Regions from separate parts of the Homo sapiens genome. Here all the other regions are linked to region 3. The links are contacts of gene promoters, found by promoter capture Hi-C in blood cells and fetal thymus (Javierre and others, 2016). All regions are on one chromosome and are shown on one strand. Each heading gives the region's core, a stretch centred on a gene start or on the middle of the fragment in contact. The rest is flanking DNA. Distances are from core to core; before and after follow the strand shown.

Region 1 (3,344 bases), core at 744-3,243, 760 kb before region 3:
TGAAGGTCAGTGGCCCTGGGGCCCCTGCTACTCTGTACACTCCCTCAGGCCCTGACCACCATCCCTCCATTCCCCCCTGCCTAGGCACTAGCCCTCATGTTGTCACCAATGTGTCCGTGGTGGCTTTGCCCAAGGGTGCCAATGTCTCCTGGGAGCCTGGCTTTGATGGTGGTTATCTGCAGAGATTCAGTGTCTGGTACACCCCACTGTGAGTGACCTGCTCCTGCCATTTCTCTGTGCCAATCTTGCCTCCTTTCCTCTCCTCCTTGAACCTATCTGGCCTTCTGCCCTTTCTTCTGTCCCTCTATCCCTCACCAGTCCTGGCTCTGCTTCCCTGTTTCCAGATTCTGAGGCATTCAGGGCCAAGGTCCTGAGACCTTGGATGGTTGAGCAGAGGGGAGGTGGTTAGATCTCTGGACCCCAGATCTTCTGGTCTTCCTAGCTCACGAGGTGCCCCCCATGTCCTCATGTCTCCCAGGGCCAAGCGTCCTGACCGAATGCACCATGACTGGGTGTCCTTGGCAGTGCCTGTGGGGGCTGCTCACCTCCTAGTGCCAGGGCTGCAGCCCCACACCCAGTACCAGTTCAGCGTGCTAGCTCAGAACAAGCTGGGGAGTGGTCCCTTCAGCGAAATCGTCTTGTCTGCTCCGGAAGGTGAGAAGCTTCTCGTCCCAGAACAGCAGAGACAAGGATGGGGAAGGGCTGCTGGGAGAGCTGGGATATGGGAGGCCCTGGGTGGGAAGGGGCAGAGGTGCTGGCCAGCTTGGGGTCCAGAGGGGTGTGTGGAAGATGATTTGAGCTTGTCTTCAGGGGTTCTGGGAGAAGAGTTGGGCACTGGGAGTTGTGGAAGGCCAGGGGAGGGGCGCTGGGAATCCTTGCTCTGACCTGCCTTTCTGTCCCACGCAGGGCTTCCTACCACGCCAGCTGCACCCGGGCTTCCCCCAACAGAGATACCGCCTCCCCTGTCCCCTCCGCGGGGTCTGGTGGCAGTGAGGACACCCCGGGGGGTACTCCTGCATTGGGATCCCCCAGAGCTGGTCCCTAAGAGACTGGATGGCTACGTCTTGGAAGGCCGGCAAGGCTCCCAGGGCTGGGAGGTGCTGGACCCGGCTGTGGCAGGCACAGAAACAGAGCTGCTGGTGCCAGGCCTCATCAAGGTATGTGCGAAAGGCGATACAGAGAGAGGCCTCCTAGGGGCTCTCCTGCGTCCTTCTCCATTCCCCAAACTCTATCTTCTCATCTTGATTTGAGCTCTTCACCTCTGCGTCCTACCTCACCCTTCCGTCCCACGTGCACGGTCTTTCCGCGCCCCGCTGGGTTGGGCGGTGCTGGGCCCTGACCTCCCTCCTGGTACCCCATCCCCATCGCAGGATGTTCTCTACGAGTTCCGCCTCGTGGCCTTCGCGGGCAGCTTCGTCAGCGACCCCAGCAACACGGCCAACGTCTCCACTTCCGGTGAGCACCTGGCGTGAGGGAGGAGCCCCAGGGCTGCTCCGAGTCCACTGACCCTCCCTCGTGGACCCCTGCCTAGGTCTGGAGGTCTACCCTTCGCGCACGCAGCTGCCGGGCCTCCTGCCTCAGCCCGTGCTGGCCGGCGTGGTGGGCGGAGTCTGCTTTCTGGGAGTGGCCGTCCTTGTGAGCATCCTGGCCGGCTGCCTCCTGAACCGGCGCAGGGCTGCCCGCCGCCGCCGCAAGCGCCTCCGCCAAGGTAAGTCCCTCCACCCTCAGCCCTGCTACTGCGCACTTGGGCCTAGCCTCCTTAAGCCCCTCCTACCTGGGGGAAAAGCCCTCGCTCCTGTGTGATCCAGGTGCATTCTCTTAGTCCTGCATCTGGTCCTGCCTACGCTTTTCCCAGCCGGATGGGGTTGGGCGCCTGGTGTTGGGTGAGAGAGTCTCCGCCTAGAGGGCCTTGATTTTTGCCTGTGTCACCTACTATTCTCATGCCCTTCCAGATCCACCTCTTATCTTCTCTCCGACCGGGAAGTCAGCTGCACCGTAAGTGCCTCCACCTCCTTGGCTTTCTTCTGCCTTTCCATTGTACGTGCCAGTATCTTCTGCTTCCTTTTTTGCATCTTTACCAGGGGGATGTTGGGTGTTGGGGAGGAACAAAAGTGGGAGAGGGTAAGAAGGGGTGTGCAGTGGCCCCAGCCTGAGGCCGTTCCAGTATGGCCTGTGCCTTCCCTCCACCCCTCCACCTTGTTGGTCCTTTCCTCGCTTGTTCTTCCTAGCTCTGCTCTGTTGTTCACCAAACCTCTCAAGGCCTGACGCTGGCTCCTGGGAGGGGGACCTGCCCCTACCACAGACCCTGATCTCCTGTCCTTCCCCAGCTCTGCTCTGGGCTCAGGCAGTCCTGACAGCGTGGCGAAGCTGAAGCTCCAGGGATCCCCAGTCCCCAGCCTGCGCCAGAGTCTGCTCTGGGGGGATCCTGCCGGAACTCCCAGCCCCCACCCGGATCCTCCATCTAGCCGGGGACCCTTACCTCTGGAGCCCATTTGCCGGGGCCCAGACGGGCGCTTTGTGATGGGGCCCACTGTGGCGGCCCCCCAGGAAAGGTCAGGCCGGGAGCAGGCAGAACCTCGGACTCCAGCCCAGCGTCTGGCCCGGTCCTTTGACTGTAGCAGCAGCAGCCCCAGTGGGGCACCCCAGCCCCTCTGCATTGAAGACATCAGCCCTGTGGCACCCCCTCCAGCAGCCCCACCCAGTCCCTTGCCAGGTCCTGGACCCCTGCTCCAGTACCTGAGCCTGCCCTTCTTCCGAGAGATGAATGTGGATGGGGACTGGCCCCCGCTTGAGGAGCCCAGCCCTGCTGCACCCCCAGATTACATGGATACCCGGCGCTGTCCCACCTCATCTTTCCTTCGTTCTCCAGAAACCCCTCCTGTATCCCCCAGGGAATCACTTCCTGGGGCTGTGGTAGGGGCTGGGGCCACTGCAGAGCCCCCTTACACAGCCCTGGCTGACTGGACACTGAGGGAGCGGCTGCTGCCAGGCCTTCTCCCTGCTGCCCCTCGAGGCAGCCTCACCAGCCAGAGCAGTGGGCGAGGCAGCGCTTCGTTCCTGCGGCCCCCCTCCACAGCCCCCTCTGCAGGAGGCAGCTACCTCAGCCCTGCTCCAGGAGACACCAGCAGCTGGGCCAGTGGCCCTGAGAGATGGCCCCGAAGGGAGCATGTGGTGACAGTCAGCAAGAGGTGAGAGCAGTCCCTGCCCATCCCTGCCTCCGCCTCAGTCCCACCCCAGACCTCTCACCCCTCTCCCAATACCCTGCACCTTCTCTGCTCCACTCCCACCCTGGGAACGGGAAAACTTGTCCCTTTTAGAAGCTTTTGCTGAGGTCCAGGGATTTT
Region 2 (3,380 bases), core at 501-3,000, 660 kb before region 3:
TTTGCTTCCAGTGCCCACCACTGTTTAAGAACAGACTGTGGGAGAAGCCTAGTAAATGGTATTGAATAAATGACCTACCCTGCTGAGGACTGACCCTATGCCTGTCGCTGGCACAGGGTGTAGGGAAGAATAAGAGGTGATGAAGTTTTGGTCAATGAGACATGATCTGGATGGTTGCTCAGTCGGCCATGATAATTCCGGTCCCCCTCTGCCTCACTGTCCTCCAGGCCCAACAACCTCCTCTCACACTGGAGATGACTTCAGTGTTAATGCAGAGCAGGAATGTAACACACAAAGAGAATTGCACTGGATGTCAGCCAAGACCTAGCTGCTCCTACCTGCTCCTCCTGGTGCTGCCACAGATCAGCTGTGTGCCCTTCCACACATCACCCTGCCCCAGGCTTCAGTACCACTGAAAAATAAGGGGTCTGTACCAGGTCAGTCACACAGATCTTTGATCATTAAGGGCCATTTGAAAAATTATTTTTGGGCTGGGTGTGGTGGCTCATGCCTGTAATTCCAGCACTTTGGGAGGCTGAGGAGGGCGGATCACTTGAGGTCAGGAGTTTGAGACCAGCCTGGTCAACATGATGAAACCCTGTCTCTACTAAAAATACAAACATTAGCCGGGTTTAGTGGCAGTGACCTGTAATCCCAGCTACTCAGGAGGCTGAGACAGGAGAATCGCTTGAACCCAGGAGGCAGAGGTTACAGTGAGCTGAGATGCACCATTGCATTCCAGCCTGGGTGACAGAGCAAGACTCCGTCTCAAAGAAAAAAAAAAAAGGCAAATTATTTTTGTCTCACCAAACAGACCAAGGCCTTTTTTGAGGTTAAGGTGTGATTTCCTGCACATGTTTAGAAATATTGAAGAAATCTGCAGGCTTTGGAGCTCTCAGGGCCAGGAACTCAGGCAAGGAGATGAAACAAAGCAACCCAAAGTCCCTATGAGCCTCTGATGTAAACAATATCATCTTAATCTTTGCTGCACCCCATAAACCCTCATCCATGGCCCGGCAGTGTTGACCCATGTCATGTTGGCTGCTTGTTGACCAAGGAAGGGAACTCAGGCATCAGATGGATAGAGGGATCGCCCGGTGTGGAGGAGACCCCGTGTATCAGCCATCCCAACATCACACCACCGTCGGCCACCCCTAAGTCCACGTGGGCCACATTTAGCCTCTCTCATCCCTACTTAGTACTTGCCTCCCCTTATAAAGGCCTGTAGGGAGGGACCTCAGCTCCCCCACAGGCTGTTGAAAACACACTCTGCTGATTGTGGGGAACCCTGCTCTGCCCTGCCCTCTGCTACTCTCCTCAAACTCTGCAGAGTTTCTGCATGCTAACACTGCCGGGTCCTCACCATTCTCACAGCCGACTTTCTCTCCAAACCAGCAGTATCACCCACTGGCTCCGTTTTTACTGCTCTGGGCCACAAAACAGCTCATGTCTCACAGATAAGAATACCCCTCAAGCTGCCACCTCCTCCCTCCCAGGACCCTGCATCTCTTTGTATCTGCCTAGCTTAAAATGTTGCCCAAGAGCTTGTTCTAGTCTTTCCTACCCACCCTCAGCTTCTGGGTTCTCACCCAGGTCGAGGGATCCCTGCCCAGACGTCTGGCATAGGCAGCTGGGGAGGGGCCTTCAGCTCTCCGAGGACAGGCTATCTGCCTGCCCCACTTACCTTCCCAGAGAAGCAGACTCCACAGGGGCCTCATGACCATCTTTCTCTGGAGAGGCAGGCAAACTCCCTCGACAGCCAAAATCCAGAACCTCCCAGGCCGAGTGGATGCACGGGAGGAGCTGTGGTCCTTCTGGAAAGTCCCATGTTCAGAAGGAGGAATCTTGACTCAGAACAGGATGTCCCAAAAGTGAAAACATCCAGAATAAAGTGGAAGTTGTCCCTGGGCCTCTCTGGGCTTACAGGAGCAGATTCTTGTAAGTCAGCCTCTTTCACATGCACATGGTTGGCTAACACGTGGCGACAACAGCCCCCACACAAGCCACATCCTCCTTGCTGGATCTCGCTGGCCTTCCTGCATCTCAGCCTGCCTCACTACTATCTGTCATCCTCATTCTAGCTTAAAATGCTTCTGTGGCCTCCCGTGGACCTGAGGATGAGGACTAACTCTGCTCTGCATGCAGGCCCTCCTGAGTCAGGCCTTCTTCTCCAGGCTGGTCGCCCACAGTCATTCTGCCCTCCAGCCATCCCAAGCCAGAAGGCCTCCTTCTCAGAACTACTGATTTCACACTTCCCTGTGTTGTACTTTCCCCACCACCCCGACTAGGCATGCTGCTCCCTCTATCCTTGCAAACAGAACATGGCTGTGCAGTCGGCGAGGACATCCTTCCAGGCTTCCTGACCACAGGCAGGTGAGAGGCCCTCTCCTTGTGTCCTGTGCATGCCCACACCTCCCTCTTTACTCTTGCTGTGTTGTTGATGACAGTTTTCTGGTTTTCACAGACTGTTTAGCCAGTCTTTTGTTCCCTTCTGTGTTGCCCTCAGTGCTTGGCACATTACAGATGTTTCATGAGTATTTGTTAAGTGAGTGAGTACATTCTAGACATGGCTACACATCTGGCTTTATGTAAGCCTTGCAACTCTCCTCTGAGAGGATCATCTTGTTACCTGGTTAGAAATGGGAAAATGTGAAAACCAGAGTGAGGTTAGGCCCCTTGCAGAGCTCACAGAGAGGCAGAGCTGGAACTTGAACCTCAGCCTTTGAAGTGTGGTCTATTTTGCCACAGTTATCCCCTCCTCATCCTGTTTCTCTTCTCACTTCAAGTTTCTTGGTTTCTTGCCAGTGAAGGTTTTTAGAGGACGTGTTGCCCCTGAGGAAAATTCCTGCTAGTCTGGAGTGTGGCTCATCGTATCTGGTCCTGCACAGCCTCTCGCCTGTCAATCAAACTGGACACTGAGCTTTGGACTCAGCCAGGAACTAGGCATATAGGATGGGGTGGGGGTGGGTGGTGAGCAGGAGGATTTTGGGATAAGGTTTTTGCCCTCCAGGTACTCACAACCAAAATGTAGAGATAGGTACACCAAGGAAAGTGAAGGGTTATCTGCAGACAGACACCACTTTGTGCAAACAGGTAGTCAGTCCTCAGAAGTGGGTGGGAAAGAGGGCTTCGCGGATCTGGGCAGGGGACGCTTCTTGAGAAGGTGGAATTTGAGCTGTGCCTTGAAGATGGGCATGGTTTAGATAATATGAGGAAAGGAGAGAGCCAGAGGTTGGGGGTGGGCTCTGGGCAGGAGGGGAGAGCAGAGCGTGCAGGGATGTGGCTGTGGGAAAATACCAAGTAGGCTCCACAGAGGACAAGGGACAGCAGACAGGAATCCTTTAGGGCTGGGTGGGAAGAATGGAAAAGGAGGTTGGGGG
Region 3 (3,722 bases), core at 1,182-3,681:
CCATTCAGAAGTTACTGCTTTCCACTGTTTCTCTCAGGCCACTGCTCTGAAGCATATTTCTAAATATGAGGATGTAACATTTCTCTTCCTCTCAACTTTAAGCCTGAATAGGGGCTGAACCCCCAGTTTGAGGACCAAGAAAGAAGAGTGTAGTTGGTGAAGAAAGACTTGGCTAGTATACTGATTTACTCTAGTCTATAGTTTTTTTTTACATCTTAGAGTAGAAGAGCTCACAGCTTTCTGGATGACGTCTTTCTCTCTTTTTGGGGCCCAGCCTAGCACCATCAGTTCCCATTGCTGAACAGTTGCAGTTTGGATCATATTTGCCTCTCGTCATAAAACTCAGCAGGTTAGGAAGGCCAGGGGCTGCAGTTGAAAGTCAAGGCCTAGTAGCAGGGTCATTAATGAAGCACAAACACCCAGCAGCCTCTCTGTCGTGCACTTAGCCTGCTCTCCCCAAGGACTCCCTTCAGCTCCTCAGTGAGTGGGGTCATCAGTGCAGTCCTCTGGGGAAGGGGATTCCACGTAGGGGAAAGGAGAGGCTGCTGTCTCTGTGGTGACTAGGGCGGGAACTCCCTTTGGGGAGTTTGATGGGTAGAGGGCAGAAGGAGTAAGCCAGCCAGCCAACTATAGGGAGGGGATCCCCAGGGTCCCCATACCAGGGGAAGCTCCTTTATCACGATGGAGACAGGGATGGGGGAGGTCAGGCGAGGTGGAGCGATTATTCCTCCAGCACCCTGGCTCTTCGCCTGTTTTCCTCAGATGAAATTCTCTACATCATCCTTCCCAGTTTCAACCCCTCCCCTCTCCACCCCCGCCCCGCCCTGTGCCCATCCCTGCTGGCCACTGGGTCCATCGCCCAGGAGCCACCTCCCCTTTCTCCTCCCCTGCGGTTCTTTCTGTTTTTCGTTGGCATCTGGCCGGGCATAGCCACCACCCTCCCCCTTCACTCTCCCCACTTCCCTTTGCTCCACAGAGGTCCTGTTCCCTCTCCCCCTTCCTCCATCCCAGCCCTCCTCCTCTTCCGACAGGGCGGTGGGGGGAGGAGGATGCATTCCTTCAGTCTCTTCACAGCCTGCCCTCCCTCCTCAGGGACCTGAGGCTCGGAGCTGTGGACCCCTTCCGGGTTTCCCTACAGGCTGCCCCTCTGGCATCCCACTAACCGTTAGTAGCCTTTAAGAAAGCTGAGGTGCCCCCACAGCGCTGACCTACATAGCCCGGCCCAGGGCGGGAGGGGCTCTTCCCCAAGTCCCCTCACCCCTGGCCCCGCCTCCTTTCTCCCCCGACTCCCTTCCTTCATCTCTCTACCATTAGGAACCAGCGAAGGTTTGAGTTCCAGACTGGGGCAAAGGGGCTAGGTATGCTACCCCATCCCAAATTTGGGAAAATCAGTGCTTAGCCCAGGAAAGCTTTGGGTTTCTCATGCATCCTCCTCCCCAAATATCTTGATTCTTTCTTTTGCGCTCCCCCCTACCCCCACCCCGCCTCTGCTCCTGTCGGATTTCTTTTCCCAGCTTCTACCACTGCCAGGGATATTGCCATCCTGGGCCCCCTCCGCCCTGTGTTGTTGTTTTGCTCCAAGGATAAGGGCCCTCTTCTTTGCCCACGCCCCCTTCAGCAGCCTCACCCAGGCCCCCTTCTCTGCCCACTCGGAGCTGCGCCGCGGGTGGTGGGGGACGGGCGGGGGAGCAGAAATGTTTGCATACAGCAGTTTGGGGGATTGCACTGGCTACCCAACCCCTACAGACATACATACACAAACACCCGACACACGCCCTGACTGAAACAGCGACAAATCTCACTCCGCCCCCAACACACACTGACACAGACATACACACAGATACTGACACAGAAACGCAGAGCCAGACACCAACACAGACGCGCGCGCACACGGACAGCAACACATCCAGACCCCGGGCTGCTCCTAACGGACATCAGCCCCGAGAGCCAAACCCCGGTGCACACGCAGACACACGCTCAGTGGTGTACACAGAAGGGTGCACACACCGGCACACCCACAGTCCACAGAGACACGGATGCTCAGAGACAGACACAAGGGTATTAGCAGCGGCTGGTGACTTTAACCCCGGTTCCAAACAAAGCCAACAGGCTCCTTCCGCGAGACTCCCGATCCCAGCCCCCGCCTCGGGTCACTCCCCACCTCCCCAGGCGCCGCCCCCTCCCTCACTCACCGTCCTGGGAGAGGTTGGCCCCGCCGGGCGCCCAGCAGCAGGCGAACAGCAGGAGCAGGAGCAGGAGCGAGGCGGCTGGGGCCCCCATCGCGCTTCCCGGCCGGCTCCCTGGCTGGGCGCTGGCGAGCCTGAATCCCCGGGGGCTGGGGATGGGGAGGGGGTGGACTACGATGTTGACCGAAAGGGCGCCCCCGAGCCGCTTCGGAGCCCGGGGCCGAGGTGGGGACCGGGAGGGAGCCGGCGCTGCTGCAGTCGCGGGGATTAAATAGGGCGCTCGGAGCAAACCATTTGGTTGGAGGTGGAGGGGGTTTGGCGGGGGGCTGGGCTGGTCGCGGGGGGGCCAGGCTGCCGCATTCCCCACACCCCCCGCCTCCCACACCCCCTCCTTGCCTTCGTGGTGCCTTCCACCCTCTCCCCCGGGAGCTCGGCCAGCCGGGCTCGGGTGTGGATCAGAGGGAGGGAGCTGGCTCAGCAGTGGGACCCTGCGCTCACCCCTCTTAGGCTTGGGGTGGAGGGAGGGGAGTCGGACAGGGCCATGGGCCAGCTGGCGAGTGCAGCCACTGCAGGCCTGGGCAAGGGCGTGCTCACTAGCCTGAGGTCCTCCAGCTCCGCCCTCCATCCTTTGGCAACTGGGGATCCCCTTAAGCCCTGGGGTCCCCCACCAACCATGTACCCAGGGACATCTCTCCAGTGGATAACTACTAACTCTCAGCCTTCTCCTAAACGCTAACATCCCTAATTCCTCTTACCCAAGAGCCCATAGTTATCTGTCCAGCAACAATTTGTGGCCCCTGGCCTTAAGCCCTGGGGTCCCCCTATCAACAGTGTACCCAGGGACACCTGTCCAGTGGATAATTGCTAACTCTCATCATTTTCCTAAACCCTAACATCCCTGATTCCTCTTACCCAAGAGCCCATAGTTATCTGTCCAGCAACAATTCGTGGCCCCAGGCAATCTCCCTTGAAAGGCATTTTCCAACAAACTCCCAGGCCTTGGGAACCAATGTCTCCCTCAATCTCATGTCAAGGAAATAACTCACCCTCTGAAAACATGATTTCACCCCAGACTCTTGCCCAATCTGGCAGCCTAACAAAGCAACTCAGTCGTTTTCTTTCTTAACCCTCCCTATTACATCTCTTTAACCCCCGGTCCCTTTCTCCAATACGTTTTCTTCTTTCTTGTTCTTTTGCAGATCTCGCCCATCTCAAGTTTGAGTTAGTAAGGTTCATGGATGAAGAGTCTGATCTAGAAACCCTCCAAGGACCCCTGCGTCTGTGACCAAAGCTGCTGTCAATCCTGAGGCCAGATATAACAAGATGAGAGATGCAGGGTGTTTGTACTTGGTCTTGGCTTAAGTGTCCCAAGTCCCTGGTGTTTGCCATTCTTTGTGACTGAGTATCTCCGAGTCTTGATATATCTCAGAAAGGGATCTTTCTAAATCAGTTTTACTGAAACTTAGCTTTTGGAAATACATTTCTAAATGTTAGAATTCTAGAATAAAATGATATTAGATATCTAAGAATTCTTAG
Region 4 (3,601 bases), core at 697-3,196, 590 kb before region 3:
AATCACAAGCATTCTTATACACCAACAACAGACAAACAGAGAGCCAAATCATGAGTGAACTCCCATTCACAATTGCTTCAGAGAGAATAAAATACCTAGGAATCCAACTTACAAGGGATGTGAAGGACCTCTTCAAGGAGAACTACAAACCACTGCTCAAGGAGATAAAAGAGGATACAAACAAATGGAAGAACATTCCATGCTCATGGGTAGGAAGAATCAATATCGTGAAAATGGCCATACTGCCCAAGGTAATTTACAGATTCAATGCCATCCCCATCAAGCTACCAATGCCTTTCTTCACAGAATTGGAAAAAACTACTTTAAAGTTCATATGGAACCAAAAAAGAGCCTGCATTGCCAAGTCAATCCTAAGCCAAAAGAACAAAGCTGGAGGCATCACACTACCTGACTTATTTTTTAAATTTTTAATGACCAAAACAAAACATCTAAAACCACAGCTTTTGGAAGAGCCACTTGTTCTTGCCCAGGTTTTACCTCTCTTTGATTTTGACTTTGGCCTTCCTTTGGGCCTTGTGTTTAAGAGCAGGGTCTCTGAAGACATCCTTGTTGATGACAGTTTTGTCCAAGGGGGTATCCACAGAGTGCCTTGTGGGCATGAGATGATTGTAGTTATAAACTTTCACAAAAGACTTGGTCTTTGACCTCTGGGTGCTCTTCTTGCCCATGGCAGCTGTCACCTTGCAAGGATAACAGTCAATTCCAGCCACCAGAGAACAGCTGACGGGGCATTCTAAGGTGCCATCATCAATGTTCTTCACGATGATGGTTTTGCATCCAGAGTAGCATCCGGTGTAGTGTCTGGCCTGGACCAACACTACTTTCCCAGGTTTTATGAACTTGCCCATTTTGACAGCAACCACCCAGGCCTACCTTCGTCTTATTTAAGGGAAGTGAATCTACCTCCTACTTGGTTGATTTTTAAGGCATATGGACTATCTTTTTTTAGCAACACAGATTTTATGCAGTTCATAGTCTTGTCAAATGTTACAGTTTGGACATCTCTTTTGCCCAATTCCTACCAAAAGCTTAATTAGAAGACTTAGCAGTTCTAATTGACAGCTGAATATATAGTTTTTTTTTCTTTTTAGAGACAAGGTCTTGCTCCGTCACCAGGTTGGAGTGCAGTGACATGATCGTAGCTCACTGTAACCTTGAATTTGTGGGCTCAAGTAATGCTCCCTACACCTCAGCCTCTATTAAGGATATATTGTTCTTTCATTATCCTAGGTAACTGTTGCTCGATAGAACTTTCTGCATTGATGGAAATGTTCTGTAATTGTGTGTCCGTCGTTAATAGTCACTAGCCATGTGTGGCTATTGAGCATTTGAAATGTGGCTGTTAAAACAAAATAATGGTACTGAAAATGTTTTATTTAATTTTAATGAAGTTTAAATAGCCACTCACGCCAGTGGCTTCCATATTGAACAGCACAACTCTGTAATTCTAAATTTTATCCCTGAATCAAGCTGAAGTATTTCTTCTTTGGCTTTCCAAAGAATAGCATTTATTGAATAGCAAATTTCTATTTTTTCCTTAATCATGGTTTTAAAACATATTCTCACTTTCTTGGATCTCACTCCCGCATCAAAAGATGGAGACTAAAATACCCTTCCCTTGGATATAGGTTGGTCTTCGTGGCTTGATTCTAGCAAATAGGATGTGTTAGAAGTGATACTATGTGATTTTTGAGGCTAGCTCATAAAAGGTGCTAAAGTTGGCTTGGTTGTCTCCCTCTCAGCACTTGAGCTTTCATGTAAGAGTTCTAGCTGCTCTAACACTGCCATGCTGGAGTCACATGGAGGGACCTCGAGAGGTATCTGAAGAGGACCAACTGTTCTAGCCTCCAGCTGTTTGAATCTTCCTAACTTAGGCTCCAGGTTACTTCGGACCCAGTCACTTTGTGACTACATTTCTGTAAGAGACTGTAAGTGAGAATTGCTTAGCTTAGCCCCTCTATCCCCAGTAAGATAATAATATACAATGCTGTCACTTTAAGCCACTATTTTGGTGTTGTGCAGCGATAGATAACTGGAACACTCTTGTAAAAGAATACTGCAGGAAATAGTTCTATGAAACTTTCTGGCATATTCATTGTTGGGATTTTTGAGTACAAAGTTTACTACATCAATTTCTTTTGAATTTAGTAACAGGAAAATCTGTATTTTCTTGAGCAATCAATAGACTTTTACTTTAATACATTTTTGCTTTGGTTGCTATGAAGCTCAAAGCTAAATTTATGTCCTACTTCGTAAGTAAATAGGACCATCAATAATTTATTTCTGTGTGTTTGCTTTTTATTTGGCCTTATCTTACTGTTTTTTAAAAATTTACCTTTTTCCTTTTTAAAGACCTTAATACAGTATATATTTTGTCAAGCCATTTCCAAAAGTGAATGCAAATAATATTGGGCTTTTGCTGAACCAGTGTGAGCTGTAAGATCATCCAGTAGATTAGCAATGATGGCTGAGAGAGCTCTGGAATTTTATAACTCTTCAATGACCTTATTTTATAGGAAGACAATAAGGCTCTGAAAACTGAAGTGACTGCTGAAGTATACACAGCTAGTGAGCAGCAAAATCTCAGCCCAGGAGAAGCTGTGTCTTACTCCTCATTCACCCATATAGCACCCATTGGTCAGATACTGATTCTTTATTAACTGTCAGCTCTGGGTCTGGTTACTTGAGGATGGGATGGTGGTACAAAGATAAATAAGAGTCAGCAGAGGAATTGAATCTCCAGATTATGCCTGGTGGGACATAGTACATGTGTTTAAATATAAAGTAATATGTAACATAAAAGCGGCACAAGTGAAGCTTTTTGAATGTTCAGAGGAATGAGAGATCACTTCCAACTGGGCAATCACAAAAGCTTCAGGAAAAAGTGATGTTGAGTTAGGCCCGGAAGGATGGACATGCTTCACACGTGCAGGTATTAGGAGAGATGATGGGGTGAAGCAAGAGAAGATTAGCTGCCGTGAGTTGAATACTGGGAATTTTAGGCCCTGTGGCATTTGGTGGGGATGATATTTTGAGCAGGGGGATTGTGCCACATCTCAAATTACACCAGGCAAGTAGTTGCTTACTATTCTGTTTATGGGATCAACGCTGCCAAGGGCATGCTACCTGCAAATGTGGATGGGAAGGATGAGAGAGAGAGAGAGAGAGAGAGATAGAGAGAGAGAGAGAGAGAAAGAATGCTAACTGAAGCTTCTACATAGCTGACTGCTCAGAAAACCCAACACATGGAGCTATGTTCTGAAGTAATTGCCTAAAACCTTTATCAACAAATAGTTTTTAGACTTTGGTATGGAGGAGAAAATTCTGGAAGAGAATCTACAACATTTCACAACACTGCAAACAGGGGGCATTTCAGGACATCCCTGAGGAACACAGCAGCATGCTCAACTTCCTCTTAGATGGCCTTGCATTTCTTACAGCCTCCTTGTGACCACAGGAGCCTGGTGATCCATGGAGCAGTAAGCCCAGCAAAGCCTAAGAGTGGGGCTCTGGAGGGACAGGTCTGTTGTTCTTTGTAGAGATTGATGGATTTGTTACAATTAGTAATAGGTGGCTTTCC
Region 5 (3,541 bases), core at 828-3,327, 710 kb before region 3:
AAGTGTTTTACACGTGTTATCTCTTTTAATCTTTACAATAATCCTGTGAAATGGTCACTGATGATTCAAAATATACTGGATGCTTCAATATGTGTCCAGTCAGACTAGGCTGAAAATACCTAGGATAATGCTGTACCATTGGAACTCAACCACTATTTTCCCAAGTGAATGAAGGTGGGGATGATGAGCTAATTCTGTGTAGGAGTTAGTGCACATATTTTCTGGCTGCAGCAGAGGGTTGGTAGTGGATATAATAAGAAATGAGGGTGGTGAGATGACAGAGAGCTAAGAGCAGTTGTTGGGGTGTCTTGGACATTGAGTGGAGCTGGAAGAGTGGAATGATAAGGAGTCGCCATGAATTTCTAAGCAAGAGAGGAGTATATCTTGTCTTTATCATGGAAAGGACATTGTCAAGGTGTAGCTGGGAGAGGCTGGAGACTGGCCACGGAATCAGGCACTTGGGCATGTCCACAGTCCACCGTAAGTATCTACGTATATCACAAGCCCTTACCGACCTCACGGTGGTATCTATTCTTGCAGCCAGGGCTGCCCCTGCAGAGCTAAAAGCAGAAATTGGTTGTAGAAACACCCAGAGTTCCCTGTCCTGTTATCTAGGGCAGGGTGGACAAAGGAAGCAGCTTGACAACAGCCCCGTACAACTTACAGGGACAACTCACTGGGCTTCACAGAAGTCTGGGCAGGTAGAATGAGGGCAAGGAAGGTTTTTTTTTTTTTTTTTTTTTTTTTTTTTAGATGTAGTCTTGCTCTGTCACTAGGCTGGAGTGCAGTGGTGCGATCTCAGCTCACTGCAGCAACCTCTGCCTTCCGGGTTCAAGAGATTCTCCTGCCTCAGCCTCCCGAGTAGCTGGGACTACAGGCATGCGCCACCATGCTCAGCTAATTTTTGTATTTTTAGTATAGACACTGTTTCACCATGTTGGCCTGGATTGGTTTGATCTCTTTACGTCATGATCTGCCTGCCTCAGCCTCCCAAAGTGCTGGGATTACAGGCATGAGCCACCATGCCTGGCCGGGAAGATTCTTTATAAATGTCACATTTGCCTCCAACCTGCACCATTCATCTTACGATTGCTCAAGAATGGCGTTGGGAAGCGGGCTTGGGAAGCTTTTAAGGATATACCTGTTTTTTCAGAGAGGTGGAAAGGGAGCTAATTTTGGTGGTTCATTCTTTAAGTATCTGGTAACCACTGTGGGACTGCCCAAAGCATGGTTGGCTCTTTGCCCAGGGACTAATGAGATAACCTCCACCTGCTGTACTTTACAAGACAGGCACAGGACCAGTTGTTTCTTGGCCCAGTAGCCTTGCAACTTGAAAATTGTCTATGACATAGTGGAAGGAGTGTGAAAGCCAGGGTCAGGGTACCTGTGTTCAAATCCTGTTAGGTAGTTTACTTCCTGTGCAATCTTGGGCAAGACCCTTGATCTTTCTGACCATCCGTTTCCTCATCTATAATATCTGTCTCAGGAAATGTTGTGAGGGCTCTCCAGGATAACACATAGGAAAGTGTTTTGTAAACAATAAAGCATTTTATAAATGCTAATTGTTTTATATTCATGCATTGCTAAATTCATTTTACCTTATTTATTTATTTATTTATTTATTTATTTTGAGACAAGGTCTTACTCTGTTGCCCAGGGGAATGCAGTAATGCAATCATGATTCACTGCATCCTCGACTTCCCAGGTTCAAGCAGTCCTCCTATCTCAGCTTCCCGAGTAGCTGGGACTATAGGCACATGCCACCATGCCTGGCTAATTTTTAGATTTCTAGTAGAGACAGAGTCTTTCTCTGTGGCCTAGGCTGGTCATGAACTCCTGGGCTCAAGTGGTCCTCCTGCCTCAACCTCCCAAAGTGCTAGGATTATAGGCATGAGCCACGGCACCTGGCCTTATTTTGTCCTATTTTAAAAGGAGTCAGGAAGTGGTAGGGGAGATATTGGAAAGTCTGTTGTAGGGGTTTTGTTTCTCTCTGCAAGGCTGGGGCAATGGCAACTATTCTACAAGGCCTTTCCTTCCGGCAGGCTCGAGAAGCAGAGTTTGAGGCTGAGCAGGAGAGAATCCGGAGGGAGAAAGAGAAGGAGATCGCACGCTTGAGGGCCATGCAGGAGAAGGCCCAGGATTACCAGGCAGAACAGGTACCTGCTTAGTCTCGACTTCCCTCTACTTTTCCCACTCCCTTGCCTATCCATCCCTTTGACAGCCTGTAGAATGGCCTTGAGGGTGGAGATGCGGAGGAAAGGATGCAAGTTACCTAGACTTCAGTAGTCTGAGAAGGAAGGGGTGGCCTGCTCCCAGGGCCTGTGTCAGCAGGGATTGGGCAGTGCAGCCTGTGCTTAAGGTTCAAGAGAAAGTTTTTCGCTGCTCCATAAAGAAGAACTTTCAACCTTAACCAACCAATGAAATGTGTCACCAGGGGAACCTGTGGTATCTCCATCATTAGCAGTTTTTAAAATTAGAAGCAATTTCAAGACTGCCTGGAGATGTCTGAGGTACAGGGAAAGAACTGGGATGAGTGGGTTGGAAGGACAAGATGACCCCTCAGGTTATCTTCTAACCCAAAGGTTTGATGACAGGATTCCATTTATCTTTTCCTAGAATAACTAGCTGCCAGAGAAATTCATGATGCTTTTCAAAGCAGACTGTCAGAGTCTGTAAGTAGGTATCTTCTTAAAGCCACTTGGTCTGTACTTCCAGCTATTTTGTGCCCTCACTGGTCCCCTGCCAACATTCCCAGGATGCCTTGCGGGCCAAGCGCAACCAGGAGGTTGCAGACAGAGAGTGGCGCAGAAAGGAAAAGGAAAATGCGCGGAAGAAGATGGAAACAGAGGCTGAGCTGCGAAAAAGTCGGCTCGAACAGGTGGCTTTCAAGGAGCACGCTCTGGCTGTTCAGGTGCAACGGGACCGGGATGAGTTCGAGAGGATTCTTCGGTAGGAGGGGCCTGGGAACCTTGGATTCCTTTCCTTGTACTGTAGCAGGGATGGTCCATATTGGATAGAGAGAAGCTTTCTGGCATGTTAACAGATGCTCGTCGATCTTGTCTGGGTTGGTGGGATCATTATAACTAGATGGATGATTGAAACTTTTAAAAATCACTTGAGCCAAGAATTATGTGATTAGAGAATTGGGAGATAGCACCTGGAATTGCTTAAGGAATTGGTGATGACTGGGATTATTTACCCTGGAACAGTAAAAGTATAAATAAAGGTAAAATTCTGGTCCATTCTGCTGCCCTCTGACCCATGTGCCCCTGCAAATTGGGGATGAAACTGCAAGAGGAGTGGTTTAGGAAAGATAGAGAAAAGAACTTCAGACACTAAGGGTTGTGAGTCACTGGAGCAGGACTTTAAGGGAGCTGTTTGCCGTTCATTTGACAAATATATATTAAGCACAGAAATGCAGGGCTCTGTGCTGGATGCCATGGAGGACATTAGCAATTAACAAAACACTGCTCTTGCCCATTCCACAGGAAAGGTATTAGAGATTTGTGTTTGGATGGACTGCACCTACATCAATCCATCT
Region 6 (3,336 bases), core at 377-2,876, 630 kb before region 3:
TGATAATAGCAGCATCTGTGTCCACCAGAAAGCAGCTGGTGGGGCATGTTGGAGGTGCCACAGCCTGAGTTCTCTCCCTCCTGTCTTCCTCATTGGGCTTCCTTAGGCCCAGCCTCCATCTCTACCCTCAGCAGGGCGTTTCATCTTCCACCACTCTTATGGAAGGGATCTGTTCTCTCTGTCTCTATTCCTAAAATGTATTCTGTGCACTGATGTGAGCAGGAGAAGAGCTCCCAGGGATCCACCATCACCTGCAGGGCAGGCTGAGCCTGTCCCCAGTCTGTATCTGTCCCCAGCCTGTATCTGTCCCCAGCCTGTATCATCTCTTTGATAAGCCAGACACCCCCATTCCCAGACAGCCTTCTGAGCAGGCCTGATGGCCTGAGACTAATGAGGAGTAACAGTTAGGGAGCCCCAGCACATCCTGCTCTTGCCTGGATCTTCTGGATCCTTAGGACCCACTCTCCTCACCCTGGAAGTAACGATGCTCACCGCATTACCGAACAGCAGGTCTTGCTTCCACTACTGCTTTTTCTAACAGCACTAAGTATTGGTTTGAATTATCTCCCCCTGGAATCACAGAATATGTCCTTGGAGGTCAAGATTTCATAGATCAGAATTTTTTCCTGTTTGACAGAAAGCTCCATGGAGGTCAGTGTCACAGAATGGGCTGGAGGGAAGGGGATCTGAGGAAGGAAGGAAGACTGATCAGCAGAAAAAGGTGCCTGCTGCTTCTCTGAACATAAAAGGAAGGAAGGGAGTCCCAGTCTTGTTGAGTTGAGAATATAAGAGCTCCAGAACCACTTGAAGAGAAGACAGAGGCCACAGACACTTTTAAGGGTATAAGATAGAGGCCTAGAGTCCCACTGCTGAGGCTTGTGTCACCCTAGGACTACCCTTGGCCTTAGACTAGTGGAGTTCCAAGTTCCTCCTTTTCCTAGGAACTGGCCAAGACTCCTGAGGAAGGGGCCTAGTCTGGTGCTGCTCTGCAGATGTTTCTGGGGGACCCCATGGCACTGTCCTGTTCCCATCCAGTAAGTTTTGGCCCATAGACATACTTTGAATTAGAAGAGACATGGACACAACTTACCAGTTTTCCCAACACAGGGAACTGCAAGAGAACAAAGTAACACAATTAGGTTAAGTAGCAAAAAGAGCTTTCTGACAAGGAGGCCTGTCACTTCAGCAATGGGGACTTACACCCATTCAACCAACCACCCGGCCACCAAACCTCCTAGCCACCCATCCACACAGCCATCCAACCATCCAACCACATAACCACTCAACCACCAAACAACCCAGCCATCAGCCATCCAACCACCCAACCATCCAACCATCCAACCACCCAACCACCCAACCACCCGGCCACTTGACTACTCAACGTTTGTGCTGGACGTACTCCCTAGAACTCTTTGCCCTATCACAGTTCAAATGTTGCCTTCTCAAACAGGTCTTCCCTGGGACTCCAATCAAAAGAATTTTCCCCAATCACTAAAACAATGCCCCATTGTATTATCTTCAAAACACTTATCACTATTTGAATTTATCTTATTCATTAAATTGCCTACATGTTATCACCTCTCTCTCTGGCTAGAATATAAGCTCCATAGTAGCAGGGACTCTGCTTATTTTACTCATTGCTATATTTTCTATGCCCAAGACCTGTGCCTGGAACATAGTCTGTGTTCAGTAAGCATCTGCTGAATAAATGCATGAATGTTTTCCTTTGCATCCCATTGTACGAGGTGGGAAGCAAAAAGTAGAAAACATAGGACTAGACTCTTGTACGAATGTGCCTGAGGGTCCTACCTCCAACATCTACAGGAGAACCCATATAGCAAGGGCAGGACCTGATTCTTGTGGTCCCATCTCTCCACAGAGCTCTGGCAAAAAGGGTATGGAAGTGACCAGACTGAGGAGGATAAGTCCCCTGAAAGAGTAATCATTAAAGGATGTGAGACATTATCAGGCAGCATGGATGAATGAGAGAACTACAAACAAACTGGATGCATCCCACATCATGCTTGCATCTTGGATGTGCTACATTCATGTTTTTAAATGAGTGAATGTGTGAGAACAGGTGACCTGGGAAGAGGGGCCAACTCACAAAATGATGACAGATATGGTTAGATAGGTTTGAATAGCCCAAACAATGGAAGACCTGAAATTGAAGGTCATAGCTGGATATGAAGCAGTGAAGAATCTTCTGGACTTTGGGGCAAGGTGTGAAACAATGAATGAATGTAGGGCTGAGTGCAGTCAGTCCAGCCAATCCTCATACATTTACTTGTGTCCTGCATTGCTGGCATGTCCTAGGTATTTTACATAACACCAAAAAAAAAATGCAAGAATGGCCTTGGGAAGGGTGGGTGAAAACCCTCTAAGAGCAGATGTTTGGCTCTGTCACATGGTATCATCTTTGCTTTCTACACTACTTTGGACACAGGTGGAATCTTTCAGCTCAATTCTCTATTCAGCTCAGGGTCAGCTCAGTCATATGCTCTCAAGAGTGTGCAGAACAATGAGTCTCTTCTTTATCATCCCTCCATCTCCACCCCTAACCCCCATCTATGAGCTCGGTGTAGTGGAAAGCATGCAGGATTTGGAATCAGATGACCTGGACTTGAGTCATGAATTTGCCTCTTTCTGTACGACCTTGAACAAGTTGTCTAAGTTCCAAGAGCCTTCAATATCTCATTCTGTCATATCACATAATAGAAATGATAATAGTCATTTTTTTCTTACAGTGTAGTTGTGAAGGTTATGTTGACCCACTGCCTGGGAAAGTGGTTACTACATTAACTGAAAGCAGAAAGAAGGCCTGACCTCAGAGTGACAGAGACCTTACTCTGTAGTTATGTCTTCCTTCCCTTCCCCACCTCACTGGAAAACAATTGTGCAGCTACAAAGTGCTAAACAAACAGGGTTGAGACTACTGAAGCCAAAAACAAGACAGAAGGCACTCAGGAAGCATAGATGCACTTAAAATGAGCTCCTGTCCCCAAATCTCAATGACTTGCTCCCCATGGTACTGCAAGATCTTGGAGGTGGGATTACAAAATTGGTTTCTGCAATCAAAACAGCAGCCAACTGGGAACATACACAGGGGGTGACACCTGCTTACAGCAGTTCCTGCAATGAGGGCCCAGGGACCTCCATTAGCTATAGGCTGAAGATGAGGTGACAGTATCATGAAGTGGCCAAGAGCTATGGTCAAACCAAGTTGCGTAATAGAATTCCGAAAAATGAAGGCAGGAGCCCCTGCCAACTCTAGGAGCAGGATAATTTCCTCTTAAAGTTTCTGAGGGATCGGGAGATATTTATCTGGGAAAGATG
Region 7 (3,753 bases), core at 579-3,078, 800 kb before region 3:
GGTATTTGGGGAACTTGATAGGGAAGAGAGACGATTTTGCATGTGATAATGGAAAATATTTAATGGGAAGGAGAGGAGTGAGTAGCCCTGAGAAAAGAGAAAATGAGATTGCCTTCTGAGTCTCAAGGTGCTAAGTAAATACTTGGTACATCAGAGATGAGGCATGCACGCTATCCCTAAAGAATTACAAAAATGAGATGGGGTGGTGTGAACAGTTCTCAAAAGAGTAAGTATGAGAGAATGTACCTCAACACAGTAAAATCCATATACAACAAGCCCACAGCTGATATTATACTCAATGGAGAAAAGTTGAAAGCTTTTCTTCAAATATCAGAAACACAACAAGGATGCCCACTTCCACTACTCGTTTTCAACGTAGTTCTTGAAGTCCTAGCCAGAGCAATTATTCAAGAGAAAGAAATAAAAGCCATCTTAATAGTAAAGGAAGAAGTGAAATTGTCTTCATTTGCTGATGAAATGATCTTATATATATAAAAAACTCTAAAAATCAAAAACCCTTAGAACTGATAAACAAATTCCATAAAGTTGCAGGATACAAAATCAACATATAAAAATTAGTGGCATTTCTGTATGTTAATAACAAGCTATCCAAAAAGAAAATTAAGAACGATCCCATTTACAATAGCAACAAAAGATAAAATAAAATAGTTAGATGTAAATTTAACTAAGGAGGTGAAAGACTTATATACTGAAAACTATAAAATACTAATGAAAGAAATGAATGAAAACACACATAAACGGCAAGATATTCCATGTTCATGGATTGGAAAAGTTAATACTGTTATAATGTCCATATTAACCCAAAACAATCTACAGATTCAAGGCAATCTCTATTAAAATTCCAATGCCACTCTTCGCGAAATAGAAAAACAATCCTTAAGTTCGTAGGGAACAACAAAAGACCACAAATGGCCAAAACAATTTTGAGCAAAAATAACAAAGCTGGAGGCATCACACGACCTGACTTTAAAGTATATTATAAGGAAATTGTAATCAAATACTGGCATAAAAACAGATCCATCAACCAATGGAACAGAAATAAACCAATGCATTTATAGTTGATTGATTTTTGACAAAGGTTCCAAAAGCCTACAATGAGGAAAGGACAATCTATTCAATAAATGGTGTGGGAAAACTGGTTATCCACATTCAGAAGAATGAAATTAGATCTTTATCTTACACCATGCATAAAAATCAACTCAAGGGAGGGATAGCATTAGGAGAAATAACAAATGTAAGACAAGTTGATGGGTGCAGCAAACCAACATGGCACATGTATACCTGTGTAACAAACCTGCACATTGTACACATGTACCCTAGAAGTTAAAGTATAATAAAAAAAACTCAAAACGGGAAAGACTTTAATGTAAGACTTGACACTATAAAACTACTAGAAGAAAGCATAAGGGGAAACCCTCATTACATTGGTTTGGACAAGAATTTTTTGGATTTGACTCTGACACCTCAGGTAACAAAAGCAAAAATAAACAAATGGGATTGCATAAAACTAAAAAGTTTATGCATAGCAAAACAAAAACAAAAACAAACAAAAAAACAAAAACAACAAAGTGAACAGACCCACAGAATGGGAAAAAATATTTTCAAACTATACATCTGATAAGGAGTTAAAATCCAAAATATATGAGGAATCCAAACAACTCATTAGCAAGAAAACAAGTAATGATTAAAAAATGGGCAAATGACTAGAACAGACACTTCTCAAAAGAAGGCATACAAATGGCTAACAGGTTCATTAAAAAATGCTCAGGATCAGTAATCACTAAGTAAATGCAAATTAAAACCACAATGAGGTATCACCTCACACCTGTTAGAATGGCTTTTATCAAAATGATAAAAGATAACATGTGTTGATGAAGACACAGAAAAAAGGGAACACTTGTACACTGTTAGTAGGAGTGTAAATTAGTACAGCTATTATGGAAAACAGTATGGAGGTTCCTCAAAAAACTAAAAATGTAACTTCCATATGATCCAACTATCCCACTTCTGAGAATATATCCAAAGGAATTAAAATGGCTGTGTTGAAAGGATATCCCTTTAACATGAACTCCCATGTTTATTATAGCATTATGTACAATAGCTAAGATGTGGACTCAATCTAAATGTTCATCAGTGGATAAATAGATAAAGAAAATGAGGTGTATACACACAATGGAATACTAATCAGCCTTTAGAAAGAATGAAATTCTGTCATTTTGGACAACACAAATGAATCTAGAGGATACTATGCTAAGTGAAATAAGCCAGGCACAGAAAGGTAAATACTGCATGATCTTATTTAGATGTGGAATATAAAAAAAGTTGAATTTGTAGAAGAATAATGGATCCCAGAGGCAGTGGGCAGAGGAGGAGTGAAGGAATGGGGAATTACTGGTCTGAGGGTACAAAGTTTCAGCTAAACAAGAGGAATAAGTTTTGAGATCTACTGCACAGCAGGATGACTGTAATCAATAATAATATGTTGTATATTTCAAAATAACTAAAAGTGTAATTTCAAATATATCACCACAAAAATATCAAGGAAGTGAAGTGATAGATATGTTAATTAGCTTGATTTAATCACTTGGAATTGTAGACATATATCAAAACATCACATTGTACTATATAAATGTAATATAATTATGATTTGTTAATTAAGCATAATTTATATCTTTTTAAAAAGAAACATTTTAATATGGGACTAAGGAAGGTGAATAGCCCTGGAAAAGGAGAAAATGAGATTGCCTTCTGAGTTCCAAAGTATTAAGACAATACATAGTGGATCAAAGATGAGGTATGCAAATTATCCCTAATGACACAAATAATCAAATGAAGGTACATACCTTATTAGAAAAATGAGGTGGGTGGTGTGGGCCCATTGCAAAAGGAGAGTCATAGAAGTACACACCCTGGCAGTGCCTATTCAAGTTCTGTCTGGGGACTCTGTCAGCCAGATGCAGTATCCAGGCAACCTTACAGAAGGAGCCTCGCTGGAGATGGATACCATAGATTGTCATCAGAGTGTTGAATCTTAGCTCATCTCTTTTCCTCTAGCACCATGTTCCCTAGGCAGCCTTCTGTTGACAACTCCCCAAACTGACTGTGTACAGGGAGGGAATGTCAGGGCGATGGAGCTGCAACTGGCCTATTTGATCAGAACACTCTAACCAAAGGCTTCTTGCCCCCATCCCTTGGTGTTCCTTTATCCTGCCTTGTTTTTCCTCACGGTACTTTATAAAGTGTTCTGATCAGACGGTACAGATCTGTTTGTTGTGTATTGCTTTCCCCCAACCTTGACTCTGACAATAATGTAAGCTTCGCGTTTTCCTGTTCACTGCTGTGTCCCACACCTAGAACAGTGCCTGGCATTTAATTGAAGCTTGATAAATAATTGTAGGATGAATGGCTAATTTTATATGTCAGTTTGATGACATCTCTGATAAAATGAGGCAGCATTCCAGATTCTGATCAACTCTGGGACATTGATGAGTTAGAGTTTGAGCCTGTATTGTGAAAAGTGCTGAATTAACTAAGAAAAATGGCATCGTGTGCAGACCCGTCTGGGTGGCCCAGGGCTTCCCTCAAGCCACTCCCCTCTGTTTCCTTTGTGCTTTCTTTGTGTGCCTCCAGTCTCAAATACAAATTAATAACAGCAAAGGAATACAAATACACATTATTGATGATGACAATAATAATAACACTGAGGGCTTTCTATATGCCAGGTATAGTTTT

The links. The method cuts DNA at HindIII sites, captures the fragments that hold promoters and counts their contacts. A CHiCAGO score of 5 or more calls a contact.
Region 1: a contact is called between a fragment that was not itself captured here and the fragment with the promoter of CADM3 in region 3, in 1 of 17 cell types (endothelial precursors). The highest score is 7.8, in endothelial precursors.
Region 2: a contact is called between the fragment with the promoter of SLAMF8 here and the fragment with the promoter of CADM3 in region 3, in 2 of 17 cell types (endothelial precursors and M2 macrophages). The highest score is 5.7, in endothelial precursors.
Region 4: a contact is called between a fragment that was not itself captured here and the fragment with the promoter of CADM3 in region 3, in 3 of 17 cell types (M2 macrophages, megakaryocytes and endothelial precursors). The highest score is 8.4, in M2 macrophages.
Region 5: a fragment that was not itself captured here is called in contact with the fragment with the promoter of CADM3 in region 3 in 1 of 17 cell types (endothelial precursors); the score reaches 5.2 in endothelial precursors.
Region 6: a fragment that was not itself captured here is called in contact with the fragment with the promoter of CADM3 in region 3 in 5 of 17 cell types (endothelial precursors, megakaryocytes, erythroblasts and 2 more); the score reaches 9.9 in endothelial precursors.
Region 7: a contact is called between a fragment that was not itself captured here and the fragment with the promoter of CADM3 in region 3, in 2 of 17 cell types (naive CD8 T cells and endothelial precursors). The highest score is 5.2, in naive CD8 T cells.

The regions. Positions count from the first base shown.
Region 1 is chr1:159,928,002-159,931,345 of GRCh38, reverse strand. It overlaps IGSF9 (immunoglobulin superfamily member 9), which reads left to right. Exons shown (of 21, transcript NM_001135050.2): 13 at 85-208; 14 at 479-654; 15 at 907-1,157; 16 at 1,371-1,455; 17 at 1,532-1,708; 18 at 1,953-1,995; 19 at 2,328-3,188. Among named protein-coding and RNA genes, the nearest start is that of TAGLN2, 4.2 kb to the right of the region's middle. The HindIII fragment of the contact is 2,658 bases long and covers 665-3,322 here.
Region 2 is chr1:159,825,243-159,828,622 of GRCh38, reverse strand. SLAMF8 (SLAM family member 8) reads right to left here and starts at 1,750. Exons shown (of 5, transcript NM_020125.3): 1 at 1,685-1,750. The coding sequence starts at 1,724. The HindIII fragment of the contact is 24,464 bases long and covers 1-3,380 here.
Region 3 is chr1:159,170,324-159,174,045 of GRCh38, reverse strand. It overlaps CADM3 (cell adhesion molecule 3), which reads right to left and starts at 2,431. Exons shown (of 9, transcript NM_001127173.3): 1 at 2,193-2,431. The coding sequence starts at 2,280. RefSeq lists an enhancer at 2,794-3,294. The HindIII fragment of the contact is 6,448 bases long and covers 1,412-3,722 here.
Region 4 is chr1:159,756,438-159,760,038 of GRCh38, reverse strand. It overlaps the pseudogene RPL27P2. Among named protein-coding and RNA genes, the nearest start is that of DUSP23, 23 kb to the left of the region's middle. The HindIII fragment of the contact is 1,789 bases long and covers 1,052-2,840 here.
Region 5 is chr1:159,875,964-159,879,504 of GRCh38, reverse strand. It overlaps CFAP45 (cilia and flagella associated protein 45), which reads left to right. Exons shown (of 12, transcript NM_012337.3): 9 at 2,043-2,156; 10 at 2,756-2,949. Among named protein-coding and RNA genes, the nearest start is that of VSIG8, 15 kb to the right of the region's middle. The HindIII fragment of the contact is 1,898 bases long and covers 1,129-3,026 here.
Region 6 is chr1:159,804,371-159,807,706 of GRCh38, reverse strand. FCRL6 (Fc receptor like 6) reads right to left here. Exons shown (of 10, transcript NM_001004310.3): 2 at 1,091-1,111. LOC105371464 (a long non-coding RNA gene) reads left to right here and starts at 677. Exons shown (of 3, transcript XR_922195.2): 1 at 677-3,336. The HindIII fragment of the contact is 3,499 bases long and covers 1-3,336 here.
Region 7 is chr1:159,964,757-159,968,509 of GRCh38, reverse strand. The region is part of intron 1 of LINC01133 (long intergenic non-protein coding RNA 1133); the gene reads right to left. It also overlaps a transcript of SLAMF9 not described here. Among named protein-coding and RNA genes, the nearest start is that of LINC01133, 5.4 kb to the right of the region's middle. The HindIII fragment of the contact is 3,020 bases long and covers 319-3,338 here.